Linked DNA regions of Homo sapiens: region 2 is linked to region 1. Evidence: promoter capture Hi-C in 16 types of primary human blood cells and fetal thymus (Javierre and others, 2016). All regions are on one chromosome and are shown on one strand. Each heading gives the region's core, a stretch centred on a gene start or on the middle of the fragment in contact. The rest is flanking DNA. Distances are from core to core; before and after follow the strand shown.

Region 1 (7,746 bases), core at 1,711-4,210:
CCCTCCTGCTCTGGCAGCATGCCTAGTGAGGGCATGGTGCCATGAATGGAAGACCTAGAGAACCATGAGAAGCCAGGCAGAATCCTATTATCACTGAGTCCTAAACCCACCCTTGAACTATTCACCTTCTGCCTTCTTTTTTTTTTTTTTTTGGAGACGGAGTCTCGCTGTGTCTCCAGGCTATAGTGCAGTGGCCATGATCTCAGCTCACTGCAACCTCCACCTCCTGGGTTCAAGTGATTCTCCTGCCTCAGCCTCCTGAGTAGATGGGACTATAGGCGTGCACCACCATGCCCCGCTAATTTTTGTATTTTTAGTAGAGATGGGGATTCACCATGTTGGCCAGGATGGTCTCGGTCTCTTGACCTCCTGATGCACCCGCCTTGGCCTCTCAAATTGCTGGGAGAAAAACAAGCCCCTGTTTTAAAGCCATTATGAACTGCATTTTCTGTTCTCTGAAGTCAAAAACGTTCTAACTGATGATTCTCTCAGCTTTCTGCCTCCATCATCCTGCCAAAACTTCTCTTGTTAAGATTGCAGTGACAACCCAATTTTTCAAATGCCCTGGTTTTATTCCAATTCCACCCTCTTCAAGTATTTGATCCTTCTGCTAACTTCCTCCATTTACAATTCTTTTTGGCTTCCAGATGGGAGGGGCTGTGCTACCGCTTTTTATTCATGTTCTTTGCTGGCATCTCCTCCCCGTGCCCACACCTTAAGATTCCCCAGGCACCACACTTAGCTCTCACCTCTTTAATTTTTTGCCTCTTTATCCTTGCTACAAAGTTCTTCCTGAATTGTATTGTCTAAACTCATGGTTCCTACTCCCTTCTATGCTACTGTTTTCTAAAGCTCTGTCTTCAAGCTCCAGCTTTCCCCTAAGCCTTAGAGTTGAATTTCCCATTGCCTGATGCATATCTCCCCATGCATGTATTCACTGCATCAACACTTATTGAACACCTACTATGAACCATACTCAGTTTTAGGCACTGAAGTGAGCAAAGTGGGTATCATGCAGGGACCTCAAATTCAACCCACCCCAAATGGGGCACTGCTGAAAACTCCTTCCGATTGTGGATTCCTCCATTGCCTAAGAAGCAAAATTGGGCATTGCCCTGGGTTGCTTCTCCTTCTGAAAATTAGGAGCCAGTTTTTGGAGCCAAACAAACCTGGATTTGAATCCTTATAGGCAGTGTAATCTGGGGCCAATTACTCCTTCAAGTGCCGATTTCTTTATGCATAAAATATTAACTATGCTGAGTTGCTGTGAAGATCAATGGAGTAAGGACTTAGGACAGCATCTGACACAGAGAAATGCCCTGTATTATTATCATGTCATTTGAGTTCCACCTCATAGATGCCTCTCAGATTCATCCCCTCTGCACTGCTTTCAACTGTCACTTTCTTGCTTCACACACTCCTCACTCCTGGCTTTGTTGTAGTCTTTCCTTTGCTCATGGCTCATCTCAAGCCATGTTCCCTCTCAACCTATCTTCTCTTAAGTTGAAATTGAATAGTCACTCTTAGCTTAAAACCTCCAGTAGCCCTATGACTTATATGTGGTGGGCTTCAAAGATAATGTCCAGACTGCCCAGCACAACATCTTTTCTGAGTTTGCCTCTTTTCAGCCTCACCTCCAGTCCCTTCTCCAATCCCAAATCCTGTGCTTCAGTCACAGCCATCTTCTCTTCATTTTCCCTAAACTCACCATTTCCTTCATGCTTCAGTGGTTTTGCAGGTCCTTGCCCCTCTGCCCAAAATGATTGGTGAGCTTCTATTCACCCTTCAATACCTCCTGCTCAAATCCCCCTTCTCTGTGAAGCCTAATCTGTATCCTCTGTCATATTACTCTTATCACATAACACTGCATGCATCTAGATAAGCACTTATTATGTTATCTGCTACACACAGCATGTTCCTCAAGATCAAGGACTGGATTATGCTTCTATTTTCAGCTCTTATGATAGTACCTGGCTAAAGGAGGCACCAATAAATGTTCACTGAATGAGTACATAAAACTCTTTATAATAAGAACTATAAGCCCTAACATCATCAGGACTTGATTCTCAAGAATTTTTTTTCTGGCAGTGACTGTGAATTTCTTTTCCACCCACCTGTATACTTTATCCTTCCATTTCTCTTGCAATTGACACTTTTCACAAGTCTTGTATTTCATATCACTGAGCCAGATTCTTGAAATCTGGAGAAGCTAAATAAGACCTCTGATCAAAGTTGGAAAAAAATGCATCTGCCTAAAGAATCACAACTGTGGTCATTAATTGAGTGCTCCTGAAGCTCAGATGCTATGTTAAATGCTGTGCACACATTACTTAATTTCATTTTTACAACTGGCTAGCATGTAGCTTCTACTACAGTGAACAATGAGCAAGATGCCTGAAATGTGCTGTCCTAGGTGTCATTTCAAGTGTCAGAACATGTCACCCAGAACTGATAGAAATCTATCTTTCAGAAAATAAATTCCTTACTTCTGCCTCTGTGGATCTCCTGAGTTGAGGCAAGGGACACATTTTGGTTCAGAGCTTGGATGGTCCTATATTTAGACTAACAGTTCCAGCTCTTTAACGTCCTTGGGTGCTCAGAGGGGCAGAGTGAGCCCCTGGGTGTGTGGACTGGTGACTGAGCAGAGTGGCTGTCCTGGCCTCGCTTGCTGCCCACTCTCCCCCATCACCTGCTGCACGCTGCTCTTCCTCAGGGTTTCTCTAACATCTCCTGGTGCACATGCCATCCCCACCCCTGCCTCTCATCTTGATCATTCCCCCCAAGTGTGCAGGCTTTGCAGTTCCCCAGGGTGTACCCAGACCCGGCATTTCCAGCTTTGAGGTGCGTTGAGCCTATGAATCAGAAAGTAATGGAAAAAATGCCTACAACTCACCAGCTTGTGGCTTGTCTCAGGCAGTCCTGGTATGTCAGGCTTCTCAGCAACTGAACCAAACAGATCTAGAGGTAGAAACTTGGCATGCAGAAGTAGGAAATAAAGTTTCCTGCAGAAAGTGAAGGCGGAGATACAGGGCAACTAATGGTAAAGATTTGAAAAAAAAAATCAGAAAAATATAGTTCTTCTTTTCCAGTCAGGAACATTGTACATTGGGTTGAGGTCTCCAGAATAGGATTAATTTTGAAATCTTGCTTATGCAACCTTGAGTGTGAGTCAGGCAAACCCTGTACATCTGCTCCTGTTTCTAACGACTCTGAGCTTCTTTATCTTGTGGGTCTTTATACCTGGAACATTTCCACTCTCTGCTCTCCTACTAGTGATAATTTGCATGATATGAGCACAACAGAATGTTTCATGTTCCAGAGAATAAAGGGTATTGGTGATAGTGGAGGAAGTATAATGAGGTTTTACTGCGATCATGTGTGCTGGTTTCAGTGGTATCATGGATTCAGAATCTGGTTAGAAATTTCATTTAGATAAGACTTTAAAATTTTTTTTTATTTAATTCACATAATAATTGTATATATTTATGGGACACAATGTGATGTTTTGCTACATGTATACATTGTGCAATGATCAAATCAGGGTAATTACATATCCATCCTCTGAAACATTTATCATTTCTTTTGAAATAATAATGATATTGAAAACCCTCTCTTCTAGCTATTTATATATACAGAATTCATTATTAACTACCGTCACCCTACTTGGAGCAGAGCACCAGCACTTGTTTCTCCTATCTCATGGTAACTTTGTACCCGTTGATCAACTGCTGCCCATTCTCACCTCCTCTCTTTCCTCCCCAGTCTCTGGTAACCACTGCTCTACTGTCTTTTTCTAAGATAGCAACTTTTTTTTTTTTTTTAAATTGGGTTTCATTCTGTCACCCAGACCGGAGTGCACTGGCACAGTCTCAGCTCACTGCTACCTCCACCTTCTGAGTTCAAGCCATCCTCCCACCTCAGCCTCCTGAGTAGCTAGGATTACAGGTGTGTGCCATCATGCCCGGCTAAGCAACTTATTTAAAAAAAAATTCCACATAAGAGTGAGATCACGTGGTATTTGTCTATCTGTGTGTGGCTTATTTCACTTAACATCCTCTAGGTTCATCCACATTATCACAAATTACAGGATTTCAAACTTTTTAATGAAAAGGAAATGCTAAATTATCTCTTGTGTCAGGAACGTCCTTAGCAAGAAGAACCTCAGTTATTTTAAATGCCCCTCCTTGGAAAGACGTTTTGTTAAAAGATAATGTAAATTTTGCAATGGGGACATCAGACTAGGAGCATTCCTAAGATTGTGCAGAGAACATGGTGTCATCTAAGTTGGCCCCTGGCACTTTCTGGAATCCAGCAGACACCGGAGGCAGGATCTCATGCTGTGGACTTGGCAAGTTTCTAAGTTTCCATTTCCCAAATATGAAATATGAATAACAAGACTGGGGGTCTATGAGGGTAAATGGACCTAAAGCAGCTAGAGCAGGGTCTGGCAGGCACTCCACAGGTAACAAACAGAACAGAACAGTCTGAGCCCTGCAGAGTGCCAGAGGTTGAAGGATGCATCCACTGCTAGAGCCAACAACAATCAAATGCTCAGGGCAGTCCAGGTGTCCTTTCCAGATTTCAAGAAGTTGGCTTTTTTGCTGTTGTTGTTGTTGTTGTTGTTGTTGTGTTATGTTGTGTTTTTGCTTTCTTTTGCGACAAGATCTTGCTCTGTTGCCTAGGCTGGAGTGCGGTGGCATGATCATGCTTCACTGCAGTCTCAACCTCAAGCAATCCTCTCATCTCAGCCTCCCAAGTAGCTGAGACTACAGGTGCATGCCACCATGCCTGACTATTTTTTGTAGAGATGGGGTTTTGTCATGTTGCCCGGGCTGGTCTCGAACTCCTGGGCTCAGGCAATCTGCCTGCCTCAGCCTCCTGAAGGGCTGGGATTACAGGTGTGAGCTCCTACACCCAGCCCAGATTTCAGTCAGTTGTAACCATGTGTCCTGTGTAAGACCTGGTATATGTGCTAAGTAAGACCTGAGACTTGAAGGGTCTCAGGTTTTTTCTTGGAAGACAGCTCATTGCCTGTTCAGGAACATAGCAAGTTCCCCAGTTGTCTCTCAATGTGTCTCTGGGCCGGAATTGGAGCATATCTCTGAGATTTCAATAATAAGACAGGTCATCCCTGACCTGGTAACACTGAGCTTGCTGCCACTTCTGGAATCTCCTGACCCTGGCATCTTGCCACCTGTTCCTATGATTCAACCCAGGATGGGGAAGAGCAAGAGCCAGAAATTTTGCTCTGGCTGATTAGGACCGCTCTCCAATTTTGTCTTCACATTGTGATCTTTGTCTCCAGCCCTGTAATTTCATAAACAAGGAGAGGCACAGAGGTAGATAGTTGCAGAGCCAGGATTCAAACCTTTGGCTTATACTGACACAGAGGGCAGGATAACAGAGGGCACCCTCCGCTGAGATTTTGAAGAGACAGTATAGAATGAAAATATTTTTGGAGGGGTGAGCAGGCTTAAAAGAAGCAACAGGGATGGTGAGGTGGTCTGTCATCCCTATGCTTTGTGGGAGACCAGAATTTGACACCCTAAAATGTACCTCTTTTGCATAAGGATTGTTGAGCTGAAGGCAATTAAGAAGCAGATGAAGGAAAGCTCTTTTCCCTCCCTTTATTTGTCTAAAAGCAGGATATAGACTTACAAAGACAAAACGGATCTGCACCCCCCTCCACACCTTCTGCCAGGGTGAACAAAGGTTCACCACTGAAGACAAATTTAAATCCTTGTGGACCTGGAGATGGCACCAGAGGAATCTTCATTAACAAGTATTACTAACCAGCCTTTACCTCCATTTATTCCTTTTGCCTTCCTACAAGTCACTGTCCCTAGAGGCTCAAAGTTCATTTTCTTTGTCTTGTCATATCTCTAAAATGTTACTGAACTTTGTTGAAGATGCTATATGAGCTGGAATTCAAAGTCACCTTTTTAAGAATTATTCATTCCCTGGATAGCTCCTATGTACGTATAAAATATGTACGTTAATAAACTTTTCTCGTGTTAATCTGTCTTTTGTTACAGGGGTCCATTCCAAGAACTTATGAGCATTGAGGAAAAAATTATTTTTTTCTTCCTTAACAGCTAGAAGGATCAAAAGAATAAACAATACCACTTGAGTGCTACAGACAGCTGGAATTGAGAGCTGCAGGTTGATGGCTCAGCCACTGCTAGAAGTTCAGCAAAGCAGTAGGACAGCAGGGGCAGAAAGTATCCTAACCTCCTTCTCCCACTCTGACCTCCTACCAGTGCTTCCCAGTGACTGAACCAGATGGGAAGAGGGAATAATGGACAGTCTAGGCAATGTAGCCCCTAAAATCAGCATCCTGGGACTCAGAGTGGATCTGGGGGAGTGTGGCAAATAACCACACAACCGTCAAGTCAAACAAATTTTTTTCTTGCAACTTTCTTCTTACCTCGTCCATATATTAATAGATAGTTAGAAAATTGGGAATCTTGATCAGTACATCTTAGAATTCTTTATGCACACGGAGAGAGTTAAAAAGGATGTTTTTTCATGAGTTTGAGAATTCTGTATCTACCCATTGGCACTGGGTTCATGGTTTCTAAGGTTCCCAGTCTCAATGATGAGTATGGCCCTTCGAGCAGGCTTGAAGGAAAGTATGTCACAAGCCACTGAGCTCTGATGTGCCTGCTGACCAAGCAGGATTACATAGAAGGCAGGGCTGTGGTCACCTCAAGGTGACATGGGGCAAGGAAGAGGAGAAGCTCAATTTTTCTGCAAGCCAATGATATGAGAATAGTTTATGCTCCCCAAATAACAAAAGAAGACCCAGAATGCTGGCCCTAAGATGTTTAAGATCTTGTTTATTTTTACACTCAAGGTCAGCAGTTGAGTTGGGGATTAGGCCATTGAAACTGAAAGTTAGAGTTGTACTCAGAACCTCTCTGCCACTCCATGGATGGCAAGAACATGTGAGAGAAAGCATAGCTAGAGAGAATTGGTGGTGGGGCAAGAAGACAGAAAAGGTTTTTCAACAGCCTGAAGTACTTTAACGATGCCCTTAGCAATTTCCTAAGTAATGGGCAATAGATTTGTTCAGTTAGTGCCTTTAGAAAATAGAGAAATTCTTGCCTCTTGTCAACACAGATGCTTTTGGTTCATTGCGGTTTTTATGGTTTGCATGCTTCCTGTGACCTACTAAAATAGATTAGTGAGTTCTAGGATTTTACATCTTCAATTCTGGTTAAACATGATCTGGACCAATATGATGCCCACAGAAAAAGCAGTAATTATGTTCCTACCTATCCTGGTCAAGTCTTCATAATAAAAATGAAGCAAACTATTACCACTGTTTTTGTCACAAATGAAAAAGTAACACAACAGGGCATAGAGTCACAGCAAGAAAGCCCAGCAACTGCAAATGATTCTTGGAAAGGAAGTGTCAACTAGCAGAGGGCAGATAAGAATTTCTCCTCCATCTTCTAAGTTCAACTTTGTCTCCAGATGAACCAGGAGTAGACAAGAATGTATGATTAGAAATAGAAATTAAAAGAACAAAATGGTAATTTTGACTTAGAGTGTAAATGCAGCAGATTAGATGTCATACCTTTAGGCCAAACAAACTGTAGGAGAAAAAAGGGGAAATCAGAATCTTTAATACATGTACTTGCTAAAAAGCTGTCTCAAGTGACGGAAAGAAATTCATTTGAACCCTATAGTAGGAATTCTTTTGTAGCCTAGATGTTTTAAATGTCTCTGTGATTAAGATCT
Region 2 (7,746 bases), core at 1,855-4,354, 240 kb after region 1:
ATCCTGGGCAATATATCGAGACCCTATCTCTACAAAAAAATTAAAATTAGCTGAGCATGGTGGCACACACCTATAGTCCCAGCTACTTAGGAGGCTGAGGCAAGAGGATAGCTCAAACCCAGGAGTTCGAGGCTGCAATGGACTCTGATCATGCCACTGTAGTCCAACCTGGGTGACAGAGTGAGGCTCTGTCTCTAAAAAAAATTGTATTTGAATACAATGATGATCATATTAAATATGAACCTACACATGTGATAAAAATGACTTAGAACTACACACACACATTGTGCCAAAGTCAAATCCCTGTTACTGATATTGTACTATAATTGTGTACAGTTGTAACCACTAGGGACACTGGGTGAGGGGTTTGTGGGACTTCTCTGCACTTACTATTCACTACTTATGAATCTTTATCTCAACATTAAAAGCGTGAAGAATTTCCAGACCTAATTTTGTTAAAATCACCTTCCTTTCCCTTTCAGTTGCTGCCCAACTTTTGTCTTGCTCATTCTCTTCACATTTAGTTGCTCTACTCTTCCCAGAGTGTTCCTACTCTTTCAAGTAGTCCATATTCTGCCTCGATTTTTCTTTTCCATTCCCTGTACTGAGCACTCCACTGGCAACTTCCCAGCTGCAAAATGCAATTTAACCTGTTCAGTCCTTATTTCATCTACTTGTATTGTTATTGGATGTTACTGACCACTCCCACCTTCTAGACACTCTTTCCTCCTGTTTCACACATCCTCCATTCCCTCTGGGGTGATATGCCCTGGGGTTCCATTCTTAATACTCCTCTATCTCGTGGTACACACCCTCCCTTAGTGATCTCACCACAAATGGCTCCAGTAACTGCAATATCCAAATTGCCTGCTAAACATCTCCCTTGGGACATGCCAAAGAACTTCAAACCCAGCATGTTCTACATGAACCTGAATTCATTGTCATTCCTCCTGAACTGAATCTTTGCCAGCATCCTCTGATCTAAGTTAGGGCAGCACCCACCCAGATTCCCAAATCAATAACCTGGAATATCATTTGCCTGCTCTCTCAGCTCCCACATTCAAACAGGCACTGAGGCCAGGCAAATATGCTTCCTACTTAATTCCTTTGGAAGACATCCCTCTTCTCCACCCCAACCTTTCTACCTTAACCCAGACACATGACTTTGGGAACCTCCTGGTCAGGTTGACTGGCCTCATCCTCCACCCTACAGGCACAGAGAGCTGACTAAAATACACATCTGAGGATCCTTCTCCAACATAAAATACCTTCAATGGCTCCTCATTCTCTTTATAACAAAATTCACTCGCATATTTAACAAATTTTTATTAAGCATCTGCTATGCATCAGATACTATTCTAGGCATAAGGAATAGACTATTCAATAGATCCTATTTGGTAAAGCAATAAAAAAGCAAAGTCCCCACCTCCATGGAGCTTTCATTCTAGTAGACGTTAGGGTCAAAGATAGAAAATAAATACTAGAAGAAAAATACAGCAGAGTTAGAAGACAGAGAACAGCAGAGTAGGTGGCAAGAGCAGCATGCTATATTGTCCAAGTTTATCAGACGTAATCTCTCTGCTTAGGTAATACTATCAGGCAGACATTTGAGGGAAGAGAGGAAGAAAGCCAAACATACACCTGGGGGATAGCATTCTGGGCAGAGAGAAGAGCATGTGCAAAGGTCCTGAGGTGGAAGCATGATTGGGGAATGGCAAGGAGACCAATGTGGTTGGAGCAGAGTGGTTGGGATGGGGGAGGGATAGGACATATGATCAGAAAGGTGATGGGATCAGAACACATACGGTGTTGTAAAGAATATAAACTCCATAGAAAGCCACGTGAAGCTTTTCATAACCCAGTCCCTTCCTCCTTCAGCCTTCTCTCATACAGTTCCTCCTCCAGTCCCTTCCATCACACTCCTCACCTTTTACTCCACAGTCTGTCTGCCCTATAGCTAGTTAGGTAGGATGCCTGTTTTTCTCTCTGCCTGGCCAAGCCCTCTTCCTCTTCAAAGATCAGCCTAGACATACCTTGTCTGGGAAACTATATCCCTGACATCCTCAGGTTACATGGAGCACTCCTACCTGTGATTTCATAGTGCCCTGAAGCTAGATCCTGTAAGAGCCCTTAGTGTTCCAAATTGTAATTTTCTGTCAAGGTTGGTCATTTTTGTGTTCCCACCTCCAATGCAATGAGTGGCTCATAACAGACACTGAAATGTTTTAACGAGTGATCTGGCCCCCTCTGACCTCTCCTAACCAGAGGGGCAGATGTCCTGGTGTGTTCTTCTTTTGCCCTGAGCACCAGTTAAGTTGGAGTCCTTCTTATGTCTTAAACATCTATGCCTGGCTCTTGGTTTGAGCTGAGTGTATCAGGGTATCACCCAGGGCAGAATGGCAAATTTTTGCCAAATAAATTTAATAAGGAGGACCGAGGCTACTATATTAATAAATCATTACAGACTTCTCTTCTTGCTATGTGCTTTTTCCAGATTTTGTATTCTCATCAGCATGTGATCTTGTTATGACTACATGAATCAGCTAAGGTTGGAGTCTTCATGTATTTCAGCAAAAGTGCCAGGAGGGTGCCTATGGGAGGATGGAACAGCTCATTCGTCGCTGGAGAAGGTGGGATTAAAATTGGCACACACTTTCCAGAGGGTATCTTTCTCTAACTGTATTCTTAGATCTTAAAATTTTTCATACCTTTTGACCCAAGAACTTCATTTCTAGAAATTATCCTCAAAAACAAATCAGAAATATTTGTACAAGAATATTCAATGCTCAACTAACATTTACATTGAAAACTTGGAGGAAGCCTAAGTGTCTAACAGTAAGTTCCTGGTTAAATAAAATATGATGCACCTATATGATAAACTACATATATCATTAAAAATAATTTTGTAGAACTCAAATGATACAAGGAAATACACACAAGACAATGCTAAGTGATAAAAATGGAAAACAGTTTGATCTCAGTTTTACCAAAAAATAAAAAAAGACCAGAAGGAAACACCTCACAACATTAAAAGTGTTGCTGAGTTATGTTATTACAGGGGAAGTTTTGTTTTTATTTTTATTGTATTTTTCTAACTTTTCTATAATAAACAAGTATTACTTTTATTAGAGTGATTTTAATATTAATTATGAAATATTTCAAATATTCAAATATGCAGAAAAAAATTAACACATGCATTAGTTTTCTACTCACACACACACAAAAATTAATCCCAGATTGATTATGGTACATAAATATGAAAAACAAAATGGAGAAACTTTGATAACAAAATATAAAAGACCCTGTATGTGAAAAATCATTTTAAATGGTCCATTTTCAAGGCATGATAATTCTAAGTACTGGCAACCAGCCTGCAAATGTAATAAACCACATGGCTCATGCACCTAGAAAGTCACAATAAATGAACAGAATGTAGAGGAGGGGTCAGCCCATAAAAGGGAAGAAAGTTTCATTATTGGGAAATGGAAACTTAATCAGGGAAGGGGACCAGAGTATAACCTTATAAAGGGGATAATGAAACTTAGGCAATATCTGGAAAGATTGTAACCCCATAGTACTCAACCAATGAGGAACTGGGGGAGGGACTTGCATGCTAGGAGATAAATTACCTGCTGTAACTGCCCCGGGTATGCCTGCCTACCAGACACCTGATCTTGCAAGACTGCCATTAAAAGTCTCGCTTCTGCTGTTCTTCCTATCTCCAAGTATCTTCCTTGAGTTTGGATGGGAGAATATGTTTCTTACAAACTTGGGAATCCATCCGGGATCTCTGTGTTTGCATGGAGTGGGACTCTGGCCAAGAGGGGAGATGCAGCCCACTCAATTTAGGAGGCCCACTCTGTCCGGGTGTCCCAGCTCCCCATAGAGGCCTTAGACAAATCTGAGACTGTTATTCAGGAGGCAACAGAGGCAACACAGGGAAAAAAGCAGGCACCACAACAACCAGGTAACCTGGTGCACAAGCCAAGGTAGGAGAATTGGACTATAAGTACTGCCTTGGTGGTTGGACATTTTCGGAGGTTGAGCATGTGTGACTGAGATGTATCCTAGATACAAAGCGAGTGCAGAGTCCCAATCCGCAGTTCCGTTCTCCTGCAAGTAATTCTCAGGGTGTGCAAGAAACCTCCAGGAGGGAGTGTTGAGTACACAGGGAAACGCTCAGACACAGAGACTGACTGAAAATGGGAAACAGAAATTCTAGGCCTAGGGGACAAAGGAAAGAGGGAGCTAAAGACTCCCTCTGACATTCCCATGGATAGTCCTTTGGGGAGAATGCTACAGGTTTTGAGGGACAACCCTTGAACCAGGGACAAGGAAAAGCAAAAGATAATAAAGCTTTGCTGTTTTATCTGGCCCAAAGACTCCATTCATAATCCTTCAGTCTTTTGGCCTAAGTTTGGTTCAGACAAGTGTTGGGTGTGCTGAGCTTTAATTCTCTATGTAAATAATAAAACCCCATCCTCACAAGAAGAGATAGGTTATGCTGTCTGCCAGATCAAGGAATTAGTTCCCATGTTCCCCCTCAAGAAAGGAGAAAAAGAGCCTAGTAAAAGCTCTGGGACCCCCCTATCATGCTTGCCTCCTCCATACGTCTCACAAAATAGGGGACAGGAAGATCAAGGGGCAACAAAGGGATTAGGGGAAGATTAGAAACCATGGGGGAGCCAAACCATCTACTTCTTTAAATCCTTATCCAAATCTAAGAAAACAATTACAACAGTGTAAGAGGACTACTGAGAACTTCCCTATCCCTTCCGCACAGCAAGCATCTAGCATGTTCCCTCTTAGGGAAGTTTCCATGGGACTGGGAGAGCTTGGCTTTGTAAATCCTCCTCTTATAAGTACTGATGTTAGGAATTTCAAGAAGGAAATGAAACCACTCCTAGAAGATCCCCTCGGTTTAGCAGACCAGCTGGACCAATTCCTAGACCCAGCTTTTACACCTGGGCCGAAATGATGTCTATTATGAATATCCTGTTCACAGGAGAAGAAAGGGGAATAATTAGGAGAGTGACCATAACCAACTGGGAGAGGCAACACCCTCCCAGGCAAGAAGTCTTGCCAGCCAAACAAAAATTTCCAAATGTCAATCCCGAATGGGATAATAATGATCCCAGGCACCAGGCCTGAATGCAAGACTTCAGGGAACTAATAATTAAAGGGATCAAAGAGTCCACTCCTAGGACACAAAATGTTTCAAAGGCATTCAAGATTCAACAAGAAAAAGGAAGAAACTCCCTCTGCATTCCTACAGAGGCTCAAAGATCAGATGAGAAAACACTCTGGATTCTATCCAGAGGACCCATTAGGGCAAGGCCTTTTGAAGGTCTTTGTAACTAAGAGCTGGCCTAACATTATAAAACAATTACAAAAGATCGATGGATGGAATGAGAAACAACCAGGAAAAGTAGTTTGCAGAAAACAATATCCCATTTCTATTGAAGGGAGAAAAGGTCTCCAAGCAGTAATAAAATGATAAAAGATGGACTATTAGAACCCTGCAGGTCACCATACAATATTCCAATTCTCCCAGTCAAAATATCTGGTGGGTCATATAAATTGTTGCAAAATCTAAGGGCTGTAAATCAAATTGTCCAGACCCACCACCCTAGGGTGCCTAAACCCTACACCCTCCTTAGTAAGATACCCTATAAACATAAGTGGTTCAGTGTGGTGGATCCAAAAGACACATTCTGGGCATTTCCCCTAGACTTTAGGAGTAGGGACCTCTTTGCCTTTGAATGGGAAATTCCTATAACTGGGAGAAAACAACAGTACCACCAAACTGTGCTGCCACAAGTTTTCACAGAAGCCTCAAACTTAATTGAAAAAGTCTTAGAAAAAGTCCTGAAGGAATTCCAACCTTCCGAGGGAACCCAGATGTTACAACATGTAAATAATCTTTTAATTTCTGGGGAGAGGAGGCCCGAGGAATCAAAAACCACCCTAAACTTGCTTAATTTCCTAGGAAAAAGGGGATTACGAGTCTCTAAGAACAAATTGCCATTTGTAAAAAAAAGAAGTTAAATATTTAGGAGACCTGATTAGTGAAGGGAAGTAGAAAATAAACCCAAAGAAAATATCGAGGATAGTGGCTCTGCCTTTGCCTTAGACAAAGAGAAACCTCCAAAAATTTTTAGGTTTAACTGGCTATTGTAGGTTATGGATGAACTCATATGCTCAAAAGACAGAGATTCTGTATCTCAAGTTACTAAAGAGGAACCCAATCCCTTGCAATGGTCCCCAAAGGAAATTCAGGCAGTAAAAGAGCTAAAGCAGGCCCTCATCACAGCCCCGGCCCTGGCCCTTCTGTCTTTAAAGAAACTATTCCATCTGTTCGTCACAGTAGATCAGGGCATGGCCCTTGGAGTGCTCACTCAAATCTGGGGAGGGAAGAGGCAACCTGTTGCTTTTGTCTCCAAGCTTCTCAATCCTGTCTCTCAGGGGTGGCCTGAATGTGTGCAAGCAGTAGCTGCCACAGCCCTGCTGGTAGAAAAGAGTTGAAAACTAACCTTTGGTGGGGCCCTAATAGTAAGCATTCCATACCAGGTCAGGAATGTATCAAATTGAAAAGCCGGGAGATAGTTAACGGATTCTCAGTTTCTAAAATATGACGCCATATTACTAGAAAAAGATGATTTGGTTGTAACCACAAATGCTTGCCTGAATCCAGCCAGTTTCCTATGGAAAGGAGAGGAGAACAAAGAGATATCAGACTGTAACTGTTAGATATCATAGAATACCAAACCAAAGTTAAATCAGACCTCAGGGAAGCTCCACTACATGATGGGACAAGGCTGTTTGTGGATGGGTCATCCCAATGATAGATGGCAAGAAAAATAATGGTTATGCTGTCCTTAATGAAAATAAACACTCCTTATGTGAGAAGGGTAGATTACCTAATGGCTGGTGGGCCCAAACTTGTGAATTATATGCTCTTAACCAGGCCCTAAAACTCAAAGGCCAAAAAGGCACCATACATACTGATTCTAAATATGCTTATGGGGTGGTACACATTTTTAGAAAAATCTGAACAAAGCAGGCCCTAATAAATAGCAGGGGAAAATAATTGGTGCATGGGGAACTGGCCAAACAGGTTGTAAAAAGCCTCCTGCTTCCAGCAAAGTAGCCATAGTTTATGTAAATGGTCATCAGAAAGGGAACACTATAGAAGCTGCAGGAAACAGGCTTGCAGATAAAGCTGCTAAGCAAGCCTCCCTGGAGGAAGATATTATACTATTTAGCTGGATCCCAGACATTCCTAAGGTAGTATTAAGGCCCCAGTTTACCAGAGAGGAGAAGGAAGAATTAGACAGACTAGGGGTCACTTAAACTAAAAATAAGAAATGAGTACTTCCTGATGGGAGAGAAACAATCAGTAAACCCTGATGAGAGAACTAATGTCTATATTACACAAAGGGAGTCACTGGGGACCTCAGGCTCTCCGTGATGCAATACTACAGGAATTTTACCCTCACTAAACAAGTATGTGGAAGTTGTGTAATTTGTCAAAGGATAAACAAAAAGGTAATTAGAAAACAGCCCATGGGAGGAAAACCTCCCAGACTAAGACCATTTCAAAGCATTCAAGTAGATTTCACAGAAATGCCCAAAGTAGGAAAACTAAAGTATTTACTGGTGATCACAGATTACCTTTCTGGCTGGGTGGAAGCCTTCCCCCTTCCCACAGCCACCACCAAGAATGTGGTCAAAATAATATTAAAA

What was found. The method cuts DNA at HindIII sites, captures the fragments that hold promoters and counts their contacts. A CHiCAGO score of 5 or more calls a contact.
Region 2: a fragment that was not itself captured here is called in contact with the fragment with the promoter of CCR2 in region 1 in 1 of 17 cell types (monocytes); the score reaches 5.2 in monocytes.

The regions. Positions count from the first base shown.
Region 1 is chr3:46,349,325-46,357,070 of GRCh38, reverse strand. It overlaps CCR2 (C-C motif chemokine receptor 2), which reads right to left and starts at 2,960. Exons shown (of 2, transcript NM_001123396.4): 1 at 2,894-2,960. RefSeq lists an enhancer at 6,694-6,843. The HindIII fragment of the contact is 10,451 bases long and covers 1-7,746 here.
Region 2 is chr3:46,114,234-46,121,979 of GRCh38, reverse strand. No RefSeq gene overlaps it. Among named protein-coding and RNA genes, the nearest start is that of CCR1, 90 kb to the left of the region's middle. The HindIII fragment of the contact is 2,509 bases long and covers 1,850-4,358 here.